5 separate regions of the Homo sapiens genome follow, and all the other regions are linked to region 5. Evidence: promoter capture Hi-C in 16 types of primary human blood cells and fetal thymus (Javierre and others, 2016). All regions are on one chromosome and are shown on one strand. Each heading gives the region's core, a stretch centred on a gene start or on the middle of the fragment in contact. The rest is flanking DNA. Distances are from core to core; before and after follow the strand shown. Region 1 overlaps SWT1 (SWT1 RNA endoribonuclease homolog). Region 2 has its middle 99 kb from the start of PRG4. Region 3 overlaps HMCN1 (hemicentin 1). Region 4 overlaps HMCN1 (hemicentin 1). Region 5 holds the start of HMCN1 (hemicentin 1).

Region 1 (5,593 bases), core at 337-2,836, 490 kb before region 5:
CTTTGCATATGTGAGTTTCATGAACTGAAGTAGCTTTATTTGAAATGTTTGAGATAATGAGTGTTTTCTTGGTTTATTATTTTGACTCATATTTGGGGTGGGAAAGAGGCAGAGGGAATTTCTATTCCTTATAAATAGGTGCATTTTGAGGACATGCTTTTATATTAAAAGATATCTCAAGTGTATATAGCTTAGTTTTTTTTCTAGCTGTCATTTTGTTTGGTCATATTTAAATTTAGCAATAAATGACTGCTAACCGTTGTGTTTGGACATAATCATATGCTGCATGGGCATTTGTACTTGATCATAGAACAGGATTTTGGAAAATAAAACCTCAGTTTCAATTTAGGAAAGGAAGATGATTAATTTTTATTGAGTTGTTTAATCTTCTAAGTTTTAATAACCTCTGTCACATTCTTGTGGCTTTAGTTTGGAATACTTTAGACAGCTATTTTTCTAAAATAATTGCAGTCATGAAGTTTGGGGTTTTTTGGGTGTGATTTGCATATATTTTGTTTTCTTATTAAACCTCTAAAAATTAATTTTCCTTTTAATCTCCTACCCCATTTTAACGTAAGAACAGACCATATATGGTATATTTATGCATTATTTCTGGGAAAAGAAACCTTAAAATCACAGTAGCTTTTCAGATCCACTAATATGCTTCAAAGATACTGATTTTTGCTTTTGAGATAAAATTTTATTAACTTCGCCTCTTTGACTTACTGTATATATTGATAGTTGACCTCTTAAGATTTTGGAAAAGGTTATTTAGAATAGGTCATCCTTTACTTTACACAAAGATAACACACTTTAGGCTACTTCTTTAAACTAGTTGTTGAAACTAAAGATTCTGTCACAGGCATGCTAATGTGTAGAAAATAAAGACCTTAAAAACTTCATCCTTTGAAGTTTAGAAGTGACTTTTTAGACTCTGAACTCATTGCAGTGTGCAAAATATTCAGCCATTGTTATCTAGAGTGGAGGGGTTTATTCATGTTTGTGTCTGACCTACTTTCTTTGAGGCTTGGCCTTTTCACCCTTAGATAATTAGGCTTCACCTCCCACTCTTCAGTTAGGGTTTCACAGCTCCTCAGATATCACTTAGTTACCTTCTCAGACTTTCAACACCTTGTCCTTTCATCACCAAGTATATCAGTTGCTTTGTTGAGTAAGAAAAAATAATACAATTTATTGTTTAAAAATGAAAAGACTTAGTTGCTTCATCCTTCATGCCACCATTTTGTAAAAAATAATTTTATTTTTTATAATTTATTTTATAATCAGTTCCTTAATACTTTGAATGCCTCCAGGGCAGAAACTGTCTTACTTTTCTGTATCTGGAGCCTTGCACAGGTAATGACACATAGTAGATGGTCAGTAAGTGATTATTTAATGAGTGTTTTATAGTCTTTGTGATAGAAGGCAACTTTTTTTAAGGCTGAATGCTAATTATACTACATTATGACATTAGATGAATAGTTAATGTAGAGGTTTTAAAAGAGGTATAGAAGAGAGATGAGCAAGCTATGAAAGGTTAAAGAATAAGAAAATCAGGAGGAAGGAGAAAGACTGGAAGAGAGAGAGATTAAGGAGATTAAAAAGGCATTTATGTCTGGAGCAGATGATGGAGCCTCCAGTAATTCACCCAAATGTCTCTTCGGGTTACATTGTTATCCTTGATTACTTTATCAACTATAGATTATTACTTATGGATTACTCTCTAGATCAACTATGTAAAATAGGGCTAGTAGAAGGAAAGATAGGATCTAATGGAAGAGTTAGACTCAGGGAATATAAGCAGGCAGTTCTTGTTATATTATAGACACATATAAGGTCATATGTGTAAAATATAGACAGTTATTAAGAGCTTTTATGGTATCTATATTGCAGTTTGACAAGCACAGTTAATGTGTATATCAAATTTTAAATGTAATATGTAATAAAATTTTTATTAAAGTAGCTGATAAAATACGTGGCATTCACGTATCAGTCGGACTGAATTTTTCAGTAACCAGCTGATTTTTTTAAACCTGGGTCTGTATGTTACTGAAGATAATACATCACTATGACTTAATTTTTAGAATAACTGGATTTCATTTTACATATCTAAAACTCTTATCTGTGTTTCCCAGCATTTGTCATTCAAGAATTGGAAATAAAGACCTTATATTTACCTTTTAAGGTAACCTCCGCTGATACTTATATCAGCGGAGAAATGCCGCAGTTATTCCCATCGCCCCTAGAGTGGACTTAGGTGTTAGTGTTCCCTTGGCCAGTATAATTCAGTTTTGGATGACAGAGTTAAATGTATCCCATCATAAATTATCAAATCACATCCAAATTAAGCAATTAAATATAATATGAAGATTACTTCTTGAAGACAACAAATATTTTAACTTGTTTATGGAGTTTTTATTTATAATCTGTTCTTTTATTTAAAATTTACTTCTTGTTTTATACCTGACTAATTCTACCTAATGATTTATTGTTCTGATATTTAATTAAAATTCCTTGCTATTAAGTCTCGTTTTAAGAAATGCTAAAACCACCAGATGGAATAAATGACCTAATAAGTCAGTGATGTTAAACACCAGTAAAAGAAATGAAATTAGGGAGAAATCAATAGAAGGGTCTGAATAAGGGCTATCATAATAATTTTAACTTAAATAACAAGTATGTATAGTAAGTATATGGGATAAAGCCAGATGATCAGTTCTAATTCATTCTTACAAAGCAGTTATATAAAAGGCGTAAAGGTAGAGTATACCCTATACTCTAGGATACATTCTAACTAGTTGGGTTTTTGTTTGTTTTGAAACAGGGTTTCACTCGGATGCCCAGGCTGGAGTGCAGTGCTGTGATCTCAGCTCACTGCAACTTCCACCTCCTGGGCTCAGGTGATCCTCTCACCTCAGCCTCTGGAGTACTTGGGACTACAGGCATGTGCCACCACACACAGCCTATTTTTTGTACTTTTTGTAGGGACAGGGTTTCTTCATGTTGCCCAGGCTGGTCTTGATCTCCTGGACTCAAGCAATGCATCTTCTTCAGCTTCCCAAATTGCTGGGATTACAGGTGTGAGCCACCACATCTGGCCTAGGATTAATTTTATCTATTTTGAGAAATATATTCTTGTGCCTCTAAATAACTTTTAGCACCTCAGTAGGCCAACCAGCTGCCAGTAGTGAGAAGTGATACAATGTCCTCAAGGGTGTTTTCCAATAGTAAGAAAAGTTTGATTTTAACTCAGGACAGTGTTTTCCACATAGATGGTACTCAGTAAATACTTAACCGTATATCAGAAACCTCTGGAATTATTAAACATTTTGATGCGCCAATCCCTGTTAACAAGGCATGTTAAACCTTTTTAGAATCAACATATACACTTTCTCTTAACAATAAGGTAACTGGAACTATTAAGTTTAAATTGTCTGATTTTTTTGCTAATATTAAGCTACTTTATTACTATTTAAATATATGTAGTTAATGTATTATTTTTGACAGCATGTAGCTATATATTTTCTCCAGCCAAATTGTTGAAATAAGACAAATAAGTAAAATAATCAAAATTATGTTTATTATTAAAGATAGTGACTTTACGCAGATTTTATTTAAACCTTATTGATAAAAATGTCAGCAGTTTTGTATGCTATTGGAGTGTAAAATAGTATAGAATGTATCGATCAGCCTTCTTTCATGGACTTTCATCCATTTACCCATGCTGCCTATATTCTAGAGAAAGGGAAATACACTCATACATCTCTCTCTCTTTTTTAATATATATAATTCTTTTTCTTAAAAAAAAAATAGGGATAGGGTCTCACTGTGTTGGCCAGGCTGGTCTTGAACCCCTATTCTCAAGCTGTCCTCTCGCCTCAGCCTCCTAAAGTGCTGGGATTACAGATGTGAGCTACCACACCCAGCTAGTCATACATATCTTAATGATGGGGATACATGTTCTTGTGTGAGCATTATAGAGTGTATTTACACAAATCTAGATGGAATAGCCCACTACACACCTAGGCTGTATGGTAAATGGCCTGTTGCTGCTGGATTACAAACCTGTATGGCATGCTACTGTACATACTACAGGGAGTTGTAACACAATGGTAATTATTTGTGTACCTAAACATACGTAAACATAGAAAAGGCATGCTTAAAAATACGGTATAAAAGATAAAAAAAAGGTATACTTGTATAGAACACTTACCACAATGTAGCTTGCAGGAGTGGAAGTGCTCTGGGTGAGTCAGTGGGTGGGTGGTGAGTCAGTGGGTGAGTGGTGAGTGAATGTGAAGGCCCTGGATATGACACTACTATAGACTATAAGCACTGTACACTTAGGCTCCACTCAATTAAAAAATGTTTTCTTTCTTCAATAACAAATTAACCTTAGGTTGTTATAACTTTTTAATTTTATGAACTTTTGATTTTTTAATACTTTTTGACTCTTTTCCAGTAACACTTAGCTTAGAACACAAACAATGGCCAGGCATGGTGGCCGACACCTGTAATCCCGGCACTTTGGGAGGCCAAGGCAGGGGGTTTGCTTGAAGCCCGGAGTTCGAGAGTAGTCTAGGCAACATAGTGAGACACCGTCTCTGCAAAAAAATAAAATTAGCTGGGCATGGTGTTGTGTGTCTGTAGTCTCAGCTACTTGGGAGGCTGAGGCAGGAGGATTGCTTGAGCCCCCCACGAGTTCAAGGTTAAAGTGAGCTATGATTGCATAACTGCATTCCAGCTTGGGCAACAGAGTGAGACCCCATCTCTAAGAACGATTTTTTATATTTAAAAATAAAATAAAAAAGGACCACCCCTTTCAGATCTATGCTTTCTAGAAAACACACACATTGTACAACTGTATAAAAATATTTTCTTTCTTGATATCCTTACTCTGTAGCTTTTTTCTTTTTATAACAATTTTTATTTATTTTTTACTTTTTAAGCTTTTTTGTTAAAAACTAATACACGAAACATACACATTACCCTAGGCCTACACAGGGTCAGGATCATCAGTGTCACTGTCTTCCACCGCCATGTCTTGTCCCACTGGAAGGTCCTCAGAGATAGTAACACACATGGAGCTGTCTCCTATGATAACAGTGCCTTCTTCTGAAATACCTCTCAAAGAACCTACCTGAGGCTCTTTTTAGTTAACTTTTTTAATAAGTAGAAGGAATATACCCTAAAATAATAATAAAAAGTATAGTAGAGTAAATATAGTAAATACAGAAAAGAACCAGTAACATAGTTGTTTATTATCATTGTTAAGTATAATGTGCTGTACTTAATTGTATGTGCTATACTTTTAGAGGACTGGCACTGCAGTAGGTTTATTTATGCCAGCATCACCACAACCACATGAGTAATGAGTTGTGCTAGTAGGAAGTTACTAAGTGATAGGAATTTTTCGGCTCTAGTATAATTTTTTTCCACTCTTGCTGATAATCTTACATTATAATCTTTTTTTTTTTGAGACAGAGTCTCACTCTGTTGCCCAGGCTGGAGCACAGTGGTGTGATCTCGGCTCACTGCAACCTCTGCCTCCCAGGTTGAAGTGATTCTCCCACCTCAGCCTCCCAAGTAGCTG
Region 2 (5,548 bases), core at 72-2,571, 460 kb after region 5:
CTGCAGGGCTAAGGTTTCCAAACACACACATACACACACACACACACACACACACACACACACACACAAACTAATCCTGAGAGTGGCTGAATTACGATGCGAGTTAAATTCCCAGCCCCATGATGCCTCTTATGATAAAGTTAGGACATGGATTGAAAAAGAAGTATGGCCCTAAAATTTGGGATGGAGACATATGAGAAGATTCTGATGAAGCTGGAAACCTTGAACTCCAAATTTGATATGTTTTCCTTGCCAACAGCTTTCCCTCTTCTCTGAATTTAGTCTTCCTTGCCTAAATAACCTGTAATGGCCTCTCTTGAGGTCTGTTGCAAAAGACAGATGATCCTCTCTGGAACTGTCCCCATTACCCCTTATTGCTCCTAGACCTACAGCCAGACTCATGTCTGTGGAATCCAATAACAAAAAAGAAACAAAGCATATATTTTATATATCTTTTTCATTTTACTTTTCTAGTTATTTGTATTATATTCTATGAAAGTAACCATCTATAATAGACTACAACTTAAAAAAAAAACAGATTGGAACTTAAAAAAAATTACCAAAGGTAATTTGAAAAACATTGCATGGCACAACACCACGAACTAAAGATTATAAGCCAGTATTTCACAGAGAGGGAAGCTGAAGCTCAGAGATTAGATAACTAGCTGCAGAGTCATCACTAGTAGGAGATGCAGAGTTAAGATTTGGACCCAAGTCCATCTGACTACAAAACCTAACACTTGCCAATACTCTGAATAAGGAAACTCCTCTTAATCTGTTCAGAAACATCTGCTTACTTCCAACCGTTACCACTGAAGTATGAAGGTGACCATACTGCTCAGCTTGGTGCTTCGTCAAAGTGCCTTCAAGTCCTCAGGTCTCCCAATACACTGGGACATCAGCTCTGAAGATTAGTGTGGTTGCAGATATTACTTATCCTTCAGAACCAACTGTTGGAGTTCAGCTATGCATACTCTAGGGGTTTGGTCTAACATTTTGTTAACAGTTTCTGAATTCCTCTGATGAATCTGAAGGAATGAGATGTGATGTCAAAAAAAGTTTTTAGCACTCCACCTTCTCTATGCAGGAGGTTGAGGTTTTACAGTCATGATTAAGTCAACTGAAATCACAGAGAAAGACTGACAATCAGTTGGTTATTTATCTGGAAGGTCTCAAGACCTGAGTCACTGTAGCCCTCACAAACAATCACCTGCAGTGGCTCCCCTTATCCAGGGTAATCCCAGATTTCCCCATAACTGGACCCCAGCTTACCTTTTCAGTATTTATGTCATAATAATTCTGTTGTATGTACCCTGTTTTCCATGTAATGATACCACACATTTTCCATAATCCAGGTTTTCTTCTATTTTTACATGTTAGAATGTTCTCCTTTCCAATTCCACATACTCATTTCTCGCCATCTTCAAAGCCCTATTTAATGCCACATCTTCCATAGAGTCTTCCCTAATCTTTTAAACAAAAGGTCTCTCTTCCATCTCTTAAGTCAGTCTATCTCCGTACCTCTCATTTGGCACTTCTTACCTTCTGCTTTGTATTATGGTTGCTTGGCACATGCATTTTCTTGTCTACTAGACAGCAAGAGCCTTGAATCCAGTTCATCCATTATCCTGCACTGCTCTTAGCATGGAGCATTCTAACTAATATTTACCCCACACACTAAGTGCAAGGATGACTGACTAATCAATGGATTAAGATAAAAAGAAACCCAAACTTTATCATGATTGATATGGTTTGGCTCTGTGTTCCCACCCATATCTCACCTTGAATTTTAGTAATTCCTACATGTCAAGGGCAGGACCAGGTGGAAATAATTGAATCATGGGTGTGGTTCCCCCATGCTGTTCTCACGATAGAGAATTCGTTCTCACAAGATCTCATGGTTTTGTAAGGGGCTTCCCCCTTTGCTCGGCTTTCATTCTGTCTCTTGCCACCCTGTGAAGAGGTGCCTTCCACCATGATTGTAAGTCTCTTGAGGCCTACCCAACAATGCGGAACTGAGAGTTTATTAAACTTCTTTCCTTTATAAATTACCCAATCTCAGGTATTTCTTCATAGCAGCTTGAGAACGGACTAATACAATGATCAAAGCAATCCATAGGTTCAATCATTCATCCATTTATTTATTCAAAAAGTATAGACTGAATGTCTACTATGTGCTGGGCTCACTGATAAACATGAGAAATCCAAACATTTAAAGATATTTATAGCCCAGTGAGAATTCATATGTAAAAATAAACAATTATAAATTATTATAGTAATTACAATAGAAGTCAGTACAAAGTACAATGGAAAGATAGGGAACAGAGTCCTAAGTCCACCTGAGAGAAGCAGAAAAGAGTCCACATTTCAGAGAGTAAGGAGGACAAAAGGACGTAAGACACACCCTTTCCTTTAAGAAAATTTCTCAGAAATTCCCACACAATATTGTTATTTATATTTCATGAGCAAGAACTTAATAGATAGAAGAAAAGCAGAGAAAGATAGTTTTTTGGTTGAACTCCATGCTCTGTTCTATGAAGAAGAAAAGACAACTAGGAATCTGCTACAAGGTGCTGCAAGAACTGGAAATGGGTACCAGAAAGAGGGGGAAGGGGTTCCTTCTTCCCAAACTGTGAAAGAATGGGGGAGATGTTTGATGACAGAGGAAACACTGGGTCTATCTGTTTTGTTTTTAATATAAGAAAGAGCCAAAGGCTATAGGGTGATTAAAGATAAAGGAAAGAGAGAGTAGAGCAATATTCTAAAAGACATGAAAAGATTTTACTCTAAAGCATAGAAAGGGGGATAATAGATGAACAAGAGGAGTTGACTTAGTCTTCTAGGGCTGCCATAACAAAATACCACAGACTGGGTGGCTTAGACAACAACATTTATTTACTCACAGTTCTGGAGGCTGGAAGTCCTAGATCAAGGTGTTGGCAGGTTTGGTTTTTCCTGAGATCTTGCTCCTTGGCTTACAATGGCCGCCTTCTCACTGTCTTCCTATGGCCTCTCTGTGCCCCCACATCTCTGATGTCTCTTCCTCTTCTACAGGGACACCAGTCTTACTCACATAGGACCACACCCTTATGACTGCATTTAACCTTTATTACCTCCTTAAAGGCCCTATCCCCAAATAACCTCACTTTGGAAGTAGGGCTTCGACAGATGAATTTTGGGAGGACACAATTCAGTCCATCACAGGAGTAAATGGCAGAAAGAACATAAGTATAGGTGAAGTGGAGGTTGGTTGTCAAGATTGTGTGCAAAATAAAGCCATATGCTGAGGGTTTGAGAGTTTAGGATGGGGTAAATTTTTGTGATAGCTCCTATGGAAAATAGAAGATGGAGCGAATTAGAAACATCTAAAGGATGACTTAGCAGAGACAGAGGTCCAGCTGACATTGAAAAATCAAACATTTCTGGCTCCAATGCATTCATGTGACTCTCAGTATTCAATCAGTACCCAATGGCCTGCATGAAAACACACAAGAAAACAAAAACATAGATAAGTTGATGCAGAACTAAAGATTTGCAGGATTTGAGAGAGGAGAGACACTGCCAAACTCAAGTAAGGATGTATGGAATGACAATTGTGCTACAAATAAATATATCTGTCACTATGAAGACAAGAAGTTAAGGGAGTTCATATTAGTTCACACTAGATGGTCTCTATCTTTTCTGTGAAATAGAGGTCAAAACAAAGGTAGCAATTTGAAATTGGGGGTTTGAGAAGAAGAATTAAGTTGTGAAACCACAGGTAAGAAGAGTCAGAAAAAGACTTCACAAGGCATCTGTACTAAAATCGGCAAATGTTGCTAAGAGAATAATAAAGATCAGATAACTTGAATATTTACTGACAATGGCATGTATAAGTGTATACAGAGTGGAGAATGTACGTGGTTCAGTTTGTCCATAATCCAAACTTCTGAGTAGGTAAAGTGCAGGGAAGTTGGGACGATGGAGTTGATGATGCTACTGAGAGTCATGTCTGAAAAAATGGATGGTGGATTCTAGGCCAGCAACAACTAAAACCAAGAAATGAATAACAGACCGAAAAAGCAAACATTAAAGGCCTGAAGACACATTCATTTACCCATTGTAAAACTCTTTTCTTTTTAACAGATTTAATTGGGTGTATAATTTTAAAACCATGTATTTTTCATCTTAAGTATAAAATGCAATGTTTGTAAAATTCACAGAGTTGTACAACTATCACCACAATCTAATTTTAGAGTGTTTCCATGACTCCAAAAAGATCCATCATGTTCATTTGCAGTCATTCCCTGATTTTATCTCTAATCCTAGACAACCACAAGTCTATTTTCCATCTCTATATAGACTTTCCCTTTCTGGACTTTTCATATAAATGCAATCATAAAATATATGGTCTTTTATGTCTGGCTATTTCCATTTAGCAGAACATTCTTGACGTTTATCCATGTTATATTTTTTTCTTTATTGCTGAATTGTGTTCCATTGTGTGGCTACATCATTTTTAAAAATTTTTATTTTAATATTTTGTAGAACTAGGGTCTCACTGTGTTGCCAGGCTGGTCTTGGACTCCTGGCCTCAACTGGTCCTCCCACCTTGGCCTCCCAAGTGCTGGCATTACAGGCGTGAGCCACTGCATCCAGCCATATAAGACTCTTATTTATCCATCCTCAGCTGATCAACATTCGAGGGTTTTTTCCATTTTGAGCTATTATAGATAATCCTGCTACAAAAAAATTTATGTGTAAGCTTTTGTGTGGACATGTTTTATTCCCTCTTGCATAGATACTTGGCAGTAAAATTGCTGGGTCCCTTGGTAAATCTATGTTTAAATTTGTAGGAATTTCCCGATCTGTTTTTCAAAGTGGCTATACTATTTACATTCTCATCAATAATATTGTCTCTCTTTTTTTATTATAGCTATTCTAGTAGGTATAGAGTAGTATCTCATTTTAATTTGCATTTCTCTAATGACTAATAATGTTGAGTATCTTTTTATGTGCTATTGGCCATTGGGATATCTTCTCTGGGGAGATGTCTATTCATATAATTTGCCCATTTCAAGCTGTGTTGTCTCTCTTTTTGTTGTTTTGTAAGAATTATTTATATATTCTAGATCCAGGTTCTTTATCAGATAACTGATTTGTCAATATGCTTTTCCAGCTGTGGCTTATCTTTTCATTTTCTTAATTGTGTCTTTTGAAGTACAGAGGTTTTCATTTTTAAGTCCATTTTATCAATGTTTTCTTTAATGGATTGTGCATTTGGTGTTCTAGCTAAGAAATCTTTGTCTTAACACAAGGTCACAAAGATTTTCTCTTATGTTTTCTTATTAAAGTTATAGCATTTTAAGGCCAGGCGCAGTGGCTCGCCCCTGTAATCCCAGCACTTTGGGAGGTCGAGGGGGGTCGATCACGAGGTCAGGAGATCAAGACCATCCTGGCTAACATGGTGAAACCCTGTCTCTACTAAAAATACAAAAAATTAGCCGGGCATGGTGGCGGGCGCCTGTAGTCCCAGCTACTCGGGAGGCTGAGGCAGGAGAAAGGCATG
Region 3 (5,341 bases), core at 1,793-4,292, 400 kb after region 5:
CAATCTGTGATTTATTATTATAAGTAAATTAGTTTTTCACTTTCTCTCCTAAATTTCAAACGCTCTAGACAAAGGTCCAGCTGAATGTAGTTTTAATAATCCCCATTAGAAAGGACTCAGTATTTGTTAATTTGTCCTGATTATTTTAATGCTTTTTAAGATATCTATAAGTATAGCATTAGTATTTTTCTTTAGTAAGATAATTCCAGATAGATGATCATAAAATAATGTAATTTTTGCTTTGGTTTCTTACCAGTTAGTATTCCTGGAGATCAATGATAGGCTATTTTGAGAAAGTTTAGGCTTGGAATTTGTTTTCTCCCTTCCCCCTCCTCTTTCTCTTCCTCCTCCTCCCTCCTTTAAATCTATTTAAGAGGTTAGACATATGTAGGTTTTCTTATTTCCATTAAAATTCCTTCTCAAAAATGAAATTTCAAATAAACTAGCATCATGGTGAAAAAAGTGATTGCCCTGCTCTGTAGGCTCATATTTTTGTAAAAACGCTGCTTATTTCCATAGAATGAAGATGCCGGTGACTATACATGTGTAGCTACCAATGAAGCTGGGGTGGTGGAGCGCAGCATGAGTCTGACTCTGCAAAGTAAGCTGCTTAATGAAACTAATTAAACACTTGATTTAGGAAATATTACCTAATAAAGAGTATTTATTTTCTTTAACTCTATAGCAAGTTCATTAGTGGTAGCTCTCAGAGTGTGTCTAATTTAGTTTTCTGCTGCTGATGGAGCAGTTGTCATCAAACATAAATCTGATAACACACAGATATTTTTCTCTATTTTATCTAACGTATATAGTATAAGATTGCAATTGATTGGTGGCAGAGCTTTTTTTTTTATTATACTTTAAGTTTTAGGGTACATGTGCACAACGTGCAGGTTAGTTACATATGTATACATGTGCCATGTTGGTGTGCTGCACCCATTAACTCGTCATTTAACATTAGGTATATCTCCAAATGCTATACCTCCCCCCACCCCCCACAACAGGCCCTGGTGTGTGATGTTCCCCTTCCTGTGTCCATGTTCTCATTGTTCAGTTCCCACCTATGAGTGAGAACATGCGGTGTTTGGGTTTTCCTCCTTGCGATAGTTTGCTGAGAATGATGGTTTCCAGCTTCATCCATGTCCCTACAAAGGACATGAACTCATCGTTTTTTATAGCTGCATAGTATTCCATGGTGTATATGTGCCACGTTTTCTTAATCCAGTCTATCATTGTTGGACATTTGGGTTGGTTCCAAGTTTTGAATACTAGTTCAACCATTGTGGAAGTCAGTGTGGTGACTCCTGGGGATCTAGAACTAGAAATACCATTTAACCCAGCAATCCCATTACTGGGTATATACCCAAAAGATTATAAATCATGCTGCTATAAAGGTGGCAGAGCTTTTTAATTACAGCATATTCAATGGAGTGCCCCTTCTTACAATTCACCACAGTTATTCCAACATGCTTAAAAAGATTGCCATTTATGGCACTTTAAGATATTTATTAAAAATAAAGACTAATGTAAAGGAGCTCAAAAGTGCTCCAGCTTGATGGCTGTCATCTTTCATGAAATAACTAAACGTTCTGGGTGAGATTCTCATGCTCATCAGGAAGCCCTTCAGTAAGAGTCATCGGAAAACAGAGCATCCATAATTGGATAAACATAAAATAATCCAATGGCCCACTGGAGAGTTTACAGAACCACTTAAGGGGCTGACCCAAAGACAATGTCACTGGGTTGAGAATTTAAGCAAGTCAAGTCATTTTGTGACTAGGCTCAGTATTTAACAGGGTGAATTTACATTTTCTTCATCACTATTGAGAGATGCTCTAGATTAGTTAGCTGTTTGCCAAACTATATAATTCTGTAAGACTCGAATAGATGGATAGACATTTAATAAGTATCTAATACAATGTTTCACTAAAGAACATATCTATCAAATGATAACATGGGATGTCATTAGGAAAAAATAGGGTTCTATGTTCAAACAAACCTGAGAAAAAATGAATTAAACAGAGTTCTTTTATTTATTAAATATATAAAGAACAGTTACTATGTGCTCAGCCCTCCTTAGGCATACCAAATTTCTTTACTGCAGATTTTCCAGAAATGTTAATATGTTGGTGTGAATTATGGCTCAACAAGGAGAGAATATAATATGCCACATTTTCCAAATAAATGTTGAGTGAACGTAGGTAGAACACTACACAATCCACTGACCCAGTTTAAAAAAAGCTACATTAGAGCAGCTCATCTGCACATATTGACAATAAATTCATTTTAGTAAGTGAGGCATATTAAATAGTCAAAAATATAATTTGGTTCAAATTAGGATTAAAGTACCAGAAGCGATATTTTTATTTAAAGTGTTCATATTTATTATGTGAATGATGAAATTAATTCAATTGAAGTATGTACATATGGAATTTTATTGTATTAATTTATAGCTTCATATGCAATTGGGAATGTTCAAGGATGGTATCTAAATTAAGGTTCTGAGTTTATTTGATAATTTAGCCATTTTAATACGAGCAGACAAGCTTATTTAGTCATGTTGTCACTTAGTGTTGAGGGATAAACCTGAGGTATTTACTTTATGCAGCAACAGTTTATTGAATACATAATGTAATCAGGAAACTAGGAGAGAAATAAAAGCACTGGCCCTGAAAGTTTCTAGAGTGAGGTTAATATAAACATCAGTTAGAAGGCATTGTGTAGGGTGATGAGCATAAGTCAGAGTAATGCTTTATATGACATTTGCTAAGAGAGTCAAACCTCACATGAAGGAATTACTTTTTTAAAAGACAACATGTCACGGATACCTTTGCAGAAAAAAACTAACATATTAATATCACAACAAAACACATTTTTGTTCTATTTTTGTCTTATTTGTATTCTATTTATTCTAGATACACTTCTCAGTCTAAAATATGCAGCCACAACCTTGAATTATCTATTACCTCTCACTGAACAAATCATTCTGCCTTTCAGTTCAATGTCACTAAAACACTGCTCTCATCCCATCATGCTCCTTCTCAAGAATGTATATGCTGCCCCGTTTGCTTTCTTATTTAAATGAAAACCTTTCTTATTTTAGGATTTGAACCAATGTTCACAACCCTGTATGCTGTTACTCTTCAGGGTGAACCTTCCTTTCTATTCTGTTCATTGTCTTGAAAAAGAAAAAGAGCTAACTCCATCTCCATGTTGTGTCTTTCTCTCCAAGTGTTCTCCCCTCTCCTCTCTGTTCAAATAACCTTACTTATTTTTGAAAATCCAGTTCAACTCTCTTTTTCCCAATGAAGTCTGTCATATTCTGTCATCTGTCTTGGCACTGTAGACCAATATAGACGTAAACATTCTGCCAGCAGTTGCATGCAGTTCCTTTTACAATCTTTCCAAGGACTTTACTTCAGCCATTGTCATTCACTATAGACACTGTTAATATCTCCCTCCTTCCTTTTTGGTTACCAGAATACCATTTTTATCCTGATTTTCTTCCTACCTCAGTGATTCGTTCTGAGTATCTTTATAAGCTTGTCTTCTGTCCATCTCTTAAATAATGCTGTTGCAATGGTTTCTGTCTTTGGCCGTCTTCTCATTTTAGACTCTCTTCTGAAGCAATCTTATTCACTATGAAAGACTCACACATATATATTTCTTGCTCATCTTTATTCTGAGCTCTAGATATGAATATCCCTGTCATGTAGACATCGCTATATGAATGTCTTAGAGATACCTCAAGTTCAGCAGTTCTAAATGGATGCAAATTATCATTCCTTACTCCCTATCCACAAATCTGTTCTTCCTGTTGTGTGCTATTGCATTGCCCAAATATACCATATTGTCCAAATCAAAACCCTGCAGTCATGAGTTCTTCCCTTTAACCCATACCAATCCGTAACAAAGTTCTATCATTTCTACTTTCTTAATAATTCTTGGATATGTCTTCCTTTTCCCCTCCATTTCCAGTGGCATGCTTTTGTTTGATCTATTATTTCTATGGTTTATGCTCCCATATTAGTACACGTTAGTTCCATAGGTATGCTATAGCACAAGTCTGTCTTATCAGTGGACTGTGAGCTCCTTGAGACTAGAAAGAATATCTTTTCTCTATATGCTCTCAGCATCCACCACAATGCCTGGCAAATAGCAGGCTTTCAGTACATGTTTATTGAATAAATGATGGCCAGTGGTAAAAGAATGAGTTAATTAGCCAGGCGTGGTGGCGGGTGCCTGTAATCCCAGCTACTCAGGAGGCTGAGGCCGGAGAATTGCTTGAACCCTGGAGGGAGATGTTGCAGTGAGCCGAGATTGTGCCATTGCACTCCAGCCTGGGTGACAAAGGGAGACTCTGGCTCAAAAAAAAAGAATGAGTTAATGACTCTTTACCTCAAAAATGATCAAAAGAAAAAAGTGAATATTCACCATATAAAACACAGACAAAAATAATAGTAACTAAGAGCACTGTGTGCTTACCTTGTTCAAAAGTTGTAGTCACATCCTCTTGTTGAGTCTAACAGGAATCCTCTGAAGTAGGCACCATTTTTAAGGACATGGGGCTCAGAGAGGTAGTAAGGAGCAGACACAGAATTTGAATCCAGGAAACATGACTCTAGAGCCCATGCTCTAGGCTAATCTCAGGAATTTTAAATTTTTGACATTTACTAAATAAAAAAGAATTATGAAAATTGTATTAATGGCAATTATAATCTATAATCTTAGTTGGGAAGCAACAGTGTTTTATAAACAAATCAATCACTTTTTTCAAAATAATGTCGCCATATAATACATGATAAAAAAAAATGCTGTAACTCCACAAAAACTGAGACACTATGTGCTTTTTTCCGTAGGTCCTCCTATTATCACTCTTGAGCCAGTGGAAACTGTTATTAATGCTGGTGGCAAAATCATATTGAATTGTCAGGCAACTGGAGAGCCTCAACCAACCATTACATGGTCCCGTCAAGGGCACTCTATTTCCTGGGATGACCGGGTTAACGTGTTGTCCAACAACTCATTATATATTGCTGATGCTCAGAAAGAAGATACCTCTGAATTTGAATGTGTTGCTCGAAACTTAATGGGTTCTGTCCTTGTCAGAGTGCCAGTCATAGTCCAGGGTGAGTGTGATCAGAGGAATATTCATAGTAAACAGTACCTGGGGTGACTCAAATCATGGAAATTATTAAGCACTTTAGTCCAAGTCTCCTGTCACCTTAACATACTTTTAGATGATGGGGAGAGGACAAAATCATCAAAATTTACAGATTGAAGGGCCTAAACCAACACAGATTAGAGCTTTAAAATGCCAAGGTTTTAATTTAAAATCCCA
Region 4 (5,874 bases), core at 2,284-4,783, 440 kb after region 5:
CTCTCCATAGTAGGGAGCAGGAGGAGGAAAAGCAGCCATTTAATAAGTGGCAGAGCTGGGACTTGAACCCAGGTTTTCTGATTCCAAGTTGTAAGCTGGTATGATCTCAACCACTTGGTGAGAAATGCAACCTTTGGCAATTCTACAGAATGCTGACTTTAAATACAATGACTTTGGGTTTGAAAGAGGAAATGTTACTTCTCATTGCCTCCATGTCTGTAGATATTGATGAATGTAAAGATGGGACCCATCAGTGCAGATATAACCAGATATGTGAGAATACAAGAGGCAGCTATCGTTGTGTATGCCCAAGAGGTTATCGGTCTCAAGGAGTTGGAAGACCCTGCATGGGTAAGTTAATAGGAACTTGTTGAGCAATAAAGCTACTGATGTAGTTACCTAGCCTTACCAACTCGCTTAGGGCCACTTTCTCTATCCTCAAATGGTCTCTTGTTACAATAATAAGGTATGTGAATTGATTTACGTCATTCAACACAATTTGGATACTTCTTCAGAGACTTCATATTGAGCTCAATTTACACTGACATTTCAAGTGATAATAATCACTTACTCTGTGCTTGCTATACACCACACATATCAAAGTGAGGTTCTGATATAATTGCCATCACAACTTAATTATCAAGATTATCTCATTGATTATATCTCTATGCACATGACATAAATGTTTGCATAGATACATTTTATTTGAGCATGAAGTATATTTGTATGTAGTATGAAAGTTTAGGTGTGAGGTATTAAAATAGGGACACACAATTTAAATAAATGGATAATTACTTTATCATATATTTAATGCTTACTGTGTGCTGTTCCCTTTGCTAAAAATATCTCATTTCTCCCCAGTTGCCTGTTTGTTTTCATCTTAGTTATATTTGAATATGAAGGCAAATAGAAAATATCTGTAAGATAACCACATACTTTTGGTAAAAATTAATGCATTTATAATCAAGAAACTGATCTATCAAATTGTAGTCTTCCTTAGAATATTCAATTGCACTAAAATAATGTTGTGGGCTTTTAAATACTAGCTTCTGGGTTTCACGCTATGCTTTTCAAATTGGTTGCCTTCTTGTCCACTTAATGATTATTTATAGCAAATTCTCCCAAAAAGACTTAGCTCTGTCTTTATGCAATCCCTAGCATAATATTTTGTATGTACCAAATGTTCAAACTAATACCATTACTAGAAACTCTTTTAAAAGAAAATGCTTTTTAATAACAGGAATACAGATCATCATTTTAGTCTTCTATTTAGATATTATCATTTATATATAGTTTAACATCTTGATCAGCCATAACCGTGACTTTTCAGAATGAAATAGTTGTATTTATTCACCAATTTGGCCACCAGCTGGATCTCAGACATTGTGCTAGGGAGTAAAACAAGGAAGAATGCAGAACCATTGCCTCAATAAAAGAGTTAAAATGGCTGGGCACTGTGCTTCACGCCTGTAATCCCAGCTACTCGGCAGGCTGAGACAAGACAATCTCTTGATGTGGAGGTTGCAGTGAGCCGAGATTGCATCACTGCACTCCAGCCTGGACAATAAGAGTGAAACTATGTCTCAAAAAAAAAAAAAAAGAAAGAAAAGAAAAGAAAAGAAAGAAAGAAAAGAGTTAAAGAAACTGTCTCAAAAAAAGAGAAAGGAGTTAAAGTATTAATTTTTACCTACTAAAATAGTTTTTAAAGCAAAATTTACTATTTTATTCTACCTTCCTGTATTGTTTTCTTTCATGCCACTGTGGTAATGAATTAAAGAATTTGGTTTTCATTCCCTTTTCCAATTTATAGGAAGAATTGCAAGTACAGATTCCATGTGTTGACCTAACAATAGAAAGAAAATAACTTTTTAAAATTTTATGTGTTTGGTGAGTTTATATCTTAGTAAGAACTGATTCTATGTCCTTGTTTCCTTGATTTTAATCTGTTGGGGGAAAATGTGCTTGGCTTGTTCATTAATTCAAAATTATTAATTCAGAAAATAAAATTTTAAAGTCTGTAGTTTTGCCAGTATTCCTACCTCTAAAACTTATAATGGTATGGAAGATTAGAGACACTAGTTACCAATATTATAACTAAATACAAACTAGAGATGTGATTTCATTTCTGCTTCTGCTGATAGAATTAAGATCTACATTAGCTTTTGAACTCTGGTTTTCGTGTATTTAAGACTACGTATTCCCATATGATCTTTTTTGTTTCTACTGTTCACAGCTTGATTTGGCACATGATATCAAACCCATTCCTTCATTAATTCAACAAATGTTTATTGAGCACCTACTTTGTGTTGGATGATGTTCTAGGTTGTGGGAATACATTGCTAAACAGGGCAGACCAGGTCTCTGTCCTCGTGGAGTTTACCTTCCAGGGAGAGAAAGAAGAATCACAAAACAAATATACAATTTCAGATAGTGATAAGCACTTTAAGGAAACATAAAACAGAGAAACATAAGGAAACATAAAACATAAAACATAAAAGGAAAGGAAACATAAAACATAAAAGAGAGACCCAGATTGGGGTGGTAGCACTGTGATCCAGGCAGCCTCTCTGAGAGACTGGACAAAAGGAAAGAGCAGGCCAGGTGTGGTGGCTCACGCCTGTAATCCCAGCACTTTGGGAGGTCGAGGCGGGTGGATCACGAGGTCAGGAGATCAAGACCATCCTGGCTAACACAGTGAAACCCTGTCTCTGTCAAAAATACAAAAAAGATTAGCTGGGCGTGGTGGGACACACCTGTAATCCCAGCACTTTGGGAGGTCGAGGCGGGTGGATCACGAGGTCAGGAGATCAAGACCATCCTGGCTAACACAGTGAAACCCTGTCTCTGTCAAAAATACAAAAAAGATTAGCTGGGCGTGGTGGCACACACCTGTAGTTCCAGCTACTTGGGAGGCTGAGACAGGAGAATCCCTTGAACCCAGGAGGCAGGGGTTGCAGTGGGCCGAGATCATGCCACTGCACTCCAGCCTGGGCAACAGAGCAACTCCATCTCAAAAAAAAAAAAAAAAAGAGAGAGCAGCCACGATGGGAAGGTCTGAGCGAGTGTATTTCAGGCTGAGGAGAAGCCAGGGCAATGTCATTCAGAAAAGAATGCACTGACCATAATCAAGGAAGAACCAAGGGGTCAGGCTGTTGGAGCAAAGGTAGGCAGAGGGTAAGGAGGATGAAGAGCCCATAATAAAGAATGTGATGGGAAAACATGAAAGGTCTTGGGCAGACAAGCAATATGATATGGTTTACATTTGGAAAAGATCACTCTGGCTGCTATGTGGAGAATTAGGAGGGCAAAGATGCTTGCAGAAAGACCAAGTCATTTAAATAAAAATTTTAAAATAAACATAAAAGTAGTTACTTTTTTAAAATTATATGTGGACATATTAGAAAGCTTCCAACATTGTCAACCAGTAGAAAAATCTGAATTCCATCTGAAATATTTGTCAAAAGAGAAAAAACAAGAGAGAAATTTCCCAAATGTACACGTATGATTGTATTAAGAGGTACTATCTTGAGACTTTTTTATAAGTGAAGTTTGATGAAAATTATATTCATTTGTGATTCCACACTCTCTTGTACCTTTTTTTTTTCCAGAGGAAGATACACAAATTTTAACAATTTAAGATGTCTCTGCCTAGTTGAACTAAGAAAGCTTAGTGTAGTATTTCTAAGATTTAAAATCTTAATGTTACTCTTAGAATTACGTGTAAAAATGTATACCAAAGTAGCTTAAACTGATCAAGGAGACAAGGCTGAAAACAGAGCTCCCTAGGTCTTAAGGCCATCATAAGTGAGTCAAAGGGGTATGAACTTACAGAACTAGTGTGTCTTGTTGTCTGAGCCACTTGCTTCAATGTGAATGTTCAAATAAAATGTGTGGATATAATATAGTATTTAGGGGGAGATTTGCAGAATCTGTCCTATGTTCATAACTGAATGATTAAAGCTTTGTCAAAAGTTCACAACAGTTGAGGAGAAATTACTGTATGCCTGGCTTTGGAGGGTAACAATGTCTTCAGTTTGTTTCACAGACTCATTCTTTATTCCTGTGTTTTGTGTGTGTATGTATGTGTCTTTTTTTTTCTTTTTTATATCATGGCATACGAGCAGACATTAATGAATGTGAACAAGTGCCTAAACCTTGTGCACATCAGTGCTCCAACACCCCCGGCAGCTTCAAGTGTATCTGTCCACCAGGACAACATTTATTAGGGGACGGGAAATCTTGCGCTGGATTGGAGAGGCTGCCAAATTATGGCACTCAATACAGTAGCTATAACCTTGCACGGTTCTCCCCTGTGAGAAACAACTATCAACCTCAACAGCATTACAGACAGTACTCACATCTCTACAGCTCCTACTCAGAGTATAGAAACAGCAGAACATCTCTCTCCAGGACTAGAAGGACTATTAGGAAAACTTGCCCTGAAGGCTCTGAGGCAAGCCATGACACATGTGTAGGTAAATGTCAGCCATATTACATTTCCTTTCTGTGGGCTCTCTTACTGATCAAAGTATGTGTACAGCACCTGTGATTGTTTGAGTGCAGTGAACTACATCTGATCTCAAGTTCGGAATGACTCAAAATTTCAAGACATTTATTTTGGCACCTAAAACTATTACAGACTTGAGTCAAGTGAATTATGGATTTACATGTGGGCATTCTAATAATTTATTGTGTTATAGTCAGTTTCTTTTTGGTCACCCTGAAGGTGTTACTAAACTTAATACTAAATAGAAATAAATTTCAGTGGCATCCAGAATGTAGTTTATTTAAAAGAGGATGTAAATATTGCCACATAACGTAATGCCATCAGATTATGGCCACATCGGATTGATGGAAAAGCAGTGGTTTAAAAGTGAAAGTTTCAGCTTCTCGGTCGACTGCTTGTTCTGTATAACAACCAACATCCCATTGACTGTTGCTCCACAGTCCTCGTGGAATTGCTGTTTGATTATTGTGTATGTTTGTACGTCACTGAAAAGATAATATGAGTTGGGACAAAATTAAGTTGTTTCTATCACTCTGAAATATGTGCTTGCAGTATCTTTATCTAAATTCACAAGTCTATAATTCCATTTGTTTGCAAAAGTGAAGTATAATTTCCCACTTAAGAATTGAGACCTTGTTTTCAGTCGAGTTGCAAACATTACCATCTGTCACTCATTTAACTCAATTTTCTGTGAACATCTACAATTAGCATGTCATTGACCTACTCAAGGGGAATTAGCAAGCAGGAATTAGTTTTACTATTTGTTAGCTGGAAAAAATAAGCAAAGAAAGAACATAGGAGAGAAGTAAAGAGGGAGGGAAGAAACAAATTCCGTTTAAATTCAAAGCCCACTATGCCAGCCTCATTTTCTTACATTTCTGGAAAGCGTTCTACACTTTGCTTACTCTCTTAACTATGCTTTTTGCTAAACATTTTTTAAACATTTCTTCTCCTTCTATCTTCAATTTTTTTTGTTTCTTTTTCTACCCTTGCCCAAGCCCTGTTACTTCATTATTATCTTCTCAGATGGACTTCTTGGTCAACCTTAGGTGGATTCATCTTCCCATATCATCTCCACTCAGTTGGGCCCTCAGTCCCTCTGGACACTCAAACTTTACCCTTTGCTTTTTAGGTTCATATTTTTTCCAGCACTTTTCTGTCTTTTTTACCCTGATGTATCTGCAGCTTAATATAAGGGATGTGGAAACTTCTCCCTCGTGATTAGCTTACCAGAATTGTTGACAGTGCTCATTTCTTCTACCACCAAACATTAATGCATTAACAATTCTCTACATTTTGTCCCACGTGGTCAAATACTGTTTAATTGCTAAATATGTGGACTCCAGTATTCTTGCTAGTATATTAAA
Region 5 (5,518 bases), core at 1,844-4,343:
GTGTTAATTGGGGCCCCTAAAGGAAAGGAGGTTGAAGACAGAAAAAATAATGGCCCCAAATGTCCAAATTTGATGAAAACAGATGGAAGAAGTACAAGAAATATGAGGGCAGCCACATCAATGCACATCATAATCAAACTGCTCAAAAACAGTAACAATAAAAAAACTCTTAAAAACATACATGGTTTATATAGAACAAGTAAGTACAAAGATGATAGAGATTATCTTTTTATTGGAAACAATACAAGCAAGAAGACAAATGAAAGTACTGAAAGAAAAACAAAAAACCTGTCTACCTAGAATTCTTTACTCAGCAAAAAAAAAAAGAAAAAACTCTTTGAAAAACAAAAGTGAAATAAAAACTTTTCCAGACATACAAAAGTGAAAGAATTTGTCTCTAGTCGAACTGCATTACTGAAATTATTAAAGAAAGTCTCTTAGTGAGAAGGAAAGTGATATCAGATGGGAATCTGGATCTACACAAAGAAATGAACAGCACAAAAAATGGTAACTACCTGGGTAAATATGCTACATTTTTCTTATTTAGATTCATTAAAAGATAACTGACTCCTTATGCAAAAAAATCAATATAATGTGGGATTTAAAATATAGTAATATGCAATAAAAATGGATGACAAAAATAGTAAAAAAGTCAGGAGGGGAGAAATGGAAGTATACTAATCTAAGGTTCTTATACATGAAGTGGTATAACACTACATGAAGAAAGGCTGGTAAATTAAAGATGTATACTATAAACTGTAAAGCAACCACTAAAAGAGTTTTAGCTAATAAGCTAGCAATGGAAATAAAATGGAATCATAAAATATTCAAAAAGAAGGCAAAAAAAAAAAAAAGGAACAAAGAATAGATGGAAGAAATAGAAAACACATAGCATGGTGGCAGATTTAAACTCAACCATATCCATAATCACATTGAGTGTAAAACATCTAAGAGCACAAATGAAAAGGCAGAGATTATTAGCCTGGATGAAAAAGCAAGACCCAATTTTAGGGTGACTACCTAAAATATACTTTAAATATAAAGAAAAAAATAAGTTAAAGGTGAAAGGATAGAAAATGATACACCATGCAACACTAATCAAAAGAAAGTTGCAGTGTTAATATCAGACAAAGTATATTTTGGAACAAATAATACTACCAGGGACAATGAAGGCAACTTCATAATGATAAAGGCGTCAATTCATGTCCATTATGTCAAAAGGACATAATAATCCTATGTGCTTATGTAACTAACCACAGAGCTTCAAATACATGAAGCTAAAACTCATAGAACTGCAAGAAGAAATACACAAATCCACAATTGTCGTCAGATATTTCAATACCACTCTCAAAAACTGATAGAACAAATAGGCAGAAATCAGTAAGGATATAGAAGATTGGAACATTATTAAACAACTTGACCTAATTAACATTTATAGAACATTCCACCCAACAGCATTCTTTTCAAGTGCACATGGAACATTTATAGATCATTTAATCCTTATTAGGTGGGTGCTATCATTATTCCCATTTACAGCTGAGTAAACACAGGTCTGAAAAAGTTTGGTAACCTTCTTGAAGGTCACACAGTTAAATGTCACAGCTGGGCTTTCAACCCAGGGTATCTGACCCAGAACTCTTAATCACTAGGCTCTGTGGCCTCCCTTGAGCACCTGGAATAGCTCAGGTCTCTAAGACTTAGAATGAAATCCTTTTTAAATAAACAACGGAATGGGAGACTCAAATAGCATTCTCTAAATACTGCTTGAGAAGGAAGTACCTTCCCCCTTTCCTCTCATATTCCCACTCAGCCCAAATGGCCTGTCTGCTTCCTTTAAGTGACATGACTTATAGGTATCATAAACTCGGGTTCCACAGCCGCTGGGACTGAAAGAGAAGACAGTTGTAGATTACAAAAGGTTGGTGGGAGCTAACTCTTCCTCAGGCTGCATCTCCGTTGGGTGGGCGGTCTAATATACATCCAAACAGAGATCAAGATGCCTGTTTGCCCCTCTTTAAATGCTGGGATCTGGACAACAACTCCTTTTCCAGGAAGGAAATGCGTTTTTATTAAAATGACATAAAGAATCCTTAGTTCATGGTAGACTTTCTTTGCTTATCCTCTTATCTCTGTTATTAGTACTATAACGTATATAGCAATCACAACACGGAAAAACGTTGGCATGTCTTCCAGGGTGAGGTTTCCTTCTTGACTGGCAAGAAAATGCCATAGAGGGGAGCACCTTTCCAATAGATCTTTGGCTGAGACCTGAGGCATGACTGTTCCAGGGGAGGAAATCTGAAACGGGGATATTATTCTGCCTTACTATGCTGAGCGTAGGATTCAAACTGCTCAGCAAATGTGAATCTTGATAATACAATTAAAAAATCAATTTTCTCTTTAATATGAATTTTATGTCTCATCTTTCCCCACACCTCTCTCGCCCCTCCTCCTTGTCCTTTCTACGGGGCTTCCATCCTGTATTCACATTCCCCTCTACAGTTAGTGACTACCTAGTTCTTGTCTCTCATTTCCCTCAGCAGCCCCTTTCCTCTTCCTGGGCTTCTTGCCCCTTCAGCGTTGTCCTCCCTTCCTTCCCTGCAGTCCAGAGTCTCAGAGGAGATCAAAGAGCGATAGTGTGGCTGCCTCGCAGCTGAGAGAATTTTCCAGCTCCCCCTCCTGGCTGGGCCGAGTTGTGGGCTGAGAGGCAGGAGGCTGGGCTGGGGCGTCTTGACTTTTGGGGGGAATTAGGAAAGAGGTGTCTAAAGCCGCGTTGTACACAATAGAAAAACAAAATTCCCTTTGTGCTAGTGTGGTGTCCCTCGGTTTGGGTCTTTGCCACACATTCTTGAAAGCCATTGTTTACACTAGCGTTTTGCAGGTTAGGAACGGTGCCGGTGGGAACCGAGCTGACACCGTAAGCGCTTCCCTGGGACTGAATTGACCCTACAATCAGTGGAGGGAAAAGTCACCCTCCGGGGGGGCCTCCAGAGCAAAGGAGGGAGGACGGCAACTGGCCAATCAGGAGGCGAGGCCGAGCCAGGCTTCCCCTCGTCGCTCGTGAGCTGCAAACAGTGGAAAGTTGGGAACCTCAGTCGCTGGCCCAGGCGGAGAGCAGCGGCGGCGGCGAGGGCAGCGGGATTCGGGCCGCGGCGCCGCAGGCTCAGAGCTGCCCCCGGGGCATGGACCCGACGCGCCGCCCGCACTCCGCCACAGGCTGTCCAGGGCCCGCGGGCAGATAGCAGTCCAGGAGGAAGCCGCATCCAGACAAAAGCTGCCGCATCCCTGCCCTGCCCAACCCCTGGAGGGATTCGAGTTTGGTGCTTGTCCCCGTCTGATTCTCAGCGCCAAACTTTTTGCTAGTTCAGAGATTCCAAGAGTCTGATGAGTTACTCTGAGAGGAAACCCTCTGCCTGTTGTTGAGGAGGACTGAGCACAGTGCTTAGGCGCTGAGGGGGAAAAAGAGGGGGAAAAAAAAGAAAATGATTTCCTGGGAAGTTGTCCATACAGTATTCCTGTTTGCTCTTCTTTATTCTTCCCTAGCTCAAGATGCGAGCCCCCAGTCAGAGATCAGAGCTGAGGAAATTCCCGAGGGGGCCTCCACGTTGGCTTTTGTGTTTGATGTGACTGGTTCTATGTATGATGATTTAGTTCAGGTGATTGAAGGGGCTTCCAAAATTTTGGAGACGTCTTTGAAAAGACCTAAAAGACCTCTTTTCAACTTTGCGTTGGTGCCTTTCCATGATCCAGGTAAGGGAAATATTTATACTTTGTCTTTGCTATGTCTCATGATTACATTATTTCTCATGCTGTGAATGAAATTGTTTGTCAGGAAGTTTCAAAACCATTTTAAAAAAATGTGCAGCTGAAAATAGTTGTAACAAAGAATTACTTGCTGGCGTCTGGGTTTGCTCATTGATACCTACTTAAGTCTCAGCCCTGGTGGAGATGGCTTGTTTAGGGAACTTGTACTGTGGTCCTCAAACCTGGAAATGTGGAGTTACGAAAAACAAAACCAAAAATCTTGGGCAACGACATCAAAATCACTTAACTCACTTAGATTTTAGAACTAAAGCATGTTTAATTACGAAGGCAGACTTGGACACGAATTTATAGCAGCGAAGCTCTAGGGGCTAACATCCAGATTGAAAGCACACTCTGAGGGTAACTCTCATTTAAGAGGGGAAAAAACCTGTTGTGTGAGACACAAGGAAGCCTGTAAGTAGTAACTACTAGTGGAACTGAAGACATGAAAAGAAAAGAGAGAAACCAATCATTTCTTAACTGAATCTATTCATCTTTGCACCAGGGCATCATTAGATAGGTTCACAGATGGGTATAAACATTACATCCATGTCTCCTGCGGTAGAATTGCTTGTAATTCGGAATGTCTGTGCTTTTTAAAGGTAGTTGAAGTGAAATAACTTCATTTTTGCCCTAAAGCCGTAGGTTTCAGCAGCTCCACTGTAATATGATCCTATTTACTTTTTTCAGTTTCTCTTTAAAGTAGCACCTCTCTGTGAGGCTTATAGGAGCCCCCATTGCCATAGCTGAGGGTAGCCTTGCAAGGGAAACCCTGGGGCTGGCAGTCTAATGTCCACCTGAGTTTCATTAGCACAAGTTGCTGCCCAGTTGAAGAAATGAAGCAGTGATTTCTTAACAGTCCTCCCCCACTGTTCTCCCACACTTTTCCTGCTTTTGAAATTCTCCCTTCACTAGAAGAACTTGACACAACCTCTTCACAACGAGAGTGTGATATCGGCAATCTGAAATTCCTTCCTGTGCATTTAGCAAAAGTATATAAGTTCAAATTATTGGTAGGTATTAAATATGGCAGGTTTTAACTATTAAACAATGGCACTGGGAGAAATTTAAAGATATATAGAACTCTCGGATTTTCATGCTCTTCACATGATGAAAACAATCTGTACTACTCTTCTGGGATATGTAATATATATATACACACACATACACATACATACATTACATATATGTAATTACATATATTTGTAATTTCTACATTGGTTAAACATGAATATTATTTATATTTGAATAAAGAATTGAATGATTATTTACTGTGTTTACTGTCTTAGACACTTCATATGTTGTGATTTTCAATGTATTAAATGTCAAGATGCCAACTGTGATGCAGTTTGAGGTTTTTGTTATTTCGGAATACCTTGAGTATGTTTCTTCTAGATGGATGAGTCTGAAGTTAGCTAAAAAATGAAGTGAAATTTTGTTTTTTCTCTAACACCACGATTTGCTTTTCACCAAAGAACTCTTATGAAATTATATTGCTGTAAACAGAATACAAAAATTGCCTCAAGTTATACATGGATACCGGACTATCCTGATATTTTGAAGTGATATGAAAACTTATTGGAATGAATTGTATTGTGGTGCCCTGCCTTTCAATTGTTACCAAATGGGAGAGTTTGCTCTTTGCTGTAGTTGACTTTCCTGTAGTTTAGCAATCATGATTTAAAGTTGGGGAAACTTGACATGCTAATAACAG

The links. The method cuts DNA at HindIII sites, captures the fragments that hold promoters and counts their contacts. A CHiCAGO score of 5 or more calls a contact.
Region 1: a contact is called between a fragment that was not itself captured here and the fragment with the promoter of HMCN1 in region 5, in 1 of 17 cell types (neutrophils). The highest score is 5.1, in neutrophils.
Region 2: a contact is called between a fragment that was not itself captured here and the fragment with the promoter of HMCN1 in region 5, in 2 of 17 cell types (M1 macrophages and M2 macrophages). The highest score is 7.6, in M1 macrophages.
Region 3: a contact is called between a fragment that was not itself captured here and the fragment with the promoter of HMCN1 in region 5, in 1 of 17 cell types (M1 macrophages). The highest score is 5.6, in M1 macrophages.
Region 4: a contact is called between a fragment that was not itself captured here and the fragment with the promoter of HMCN1 in region 5, in 2 of 17 cell types (M1 macrophages and megakaryocytes). The highest score is 5.5, in M1 macrophages.

Annotation. Positions count from the first base shown.
Region 1 is chr1:185,240,310-185,245,902 of GRCh38, forward strand. The region is part of intron 16 of SWT1 (SWT1 RNA endoribonuclease homolog); the gene reads left to right. Among named protein-coding and RNA genes, the nearest start is that of IVNS1ABP, 74 kb to the right of the region's middle. The HindIII fragment of the contact is 6,721 bases long and covers 1-4,947 here.
Region 2 is chr1:186,194,801-186,200,348 of GRCh38, forward strand. No RefSeq gene overlaps it. Among named protein-coding and RNA genes, the nearest start is that of PRG4, 99 kb to the right of the region's middle. The HindIII fragment of the contact is 6,841 bases long and covers 1-4,742 here.
Region 3 is chr1:186,131,809-186,137,149 of GRCh38, forward strand. HMCN1 (hemicentin 1) reads left to right here. Exons shown (of 107, transcript NM_031935.3): 86 at 520-601; 87 at 4,860-5,129. Among named protein-coding and RNA genes, the nearest start is that of PRG4, 160 kb to the right of the region's middle. The HindIII fragment of the contact is 996 bases long and covers 2,545-3,540 here.
Region 4 is chr1:186,174,292-186,180,165 of GRCh38, forward strand. HMCN1 (hemicentin 1) reads left to right here. Exons shown (of 107, transcript NM_031935.3): 103 at 223-351; 104 at 4,125-4,475. Among named protein-coding and RNA genes, the nearest start is that of PRG4, 120 kb to the right of the region's middle. The HindIII fragment of the contact is 261 bases long and covers 3,404-3,664 here.
Region 5 is chr1:185,731,298-185,736,815 of GRCh38, forward strand. HMCN1 (hemicentin 1) reads left to right here and starts at 3,094. Exons shown (of 107, transcript NM_031935.3): 1 at 3,094-3,750. The coding sequence starts at 3,483. The HindIII fragment of the contact is 13,332 bases long and covers 1-5,518 here.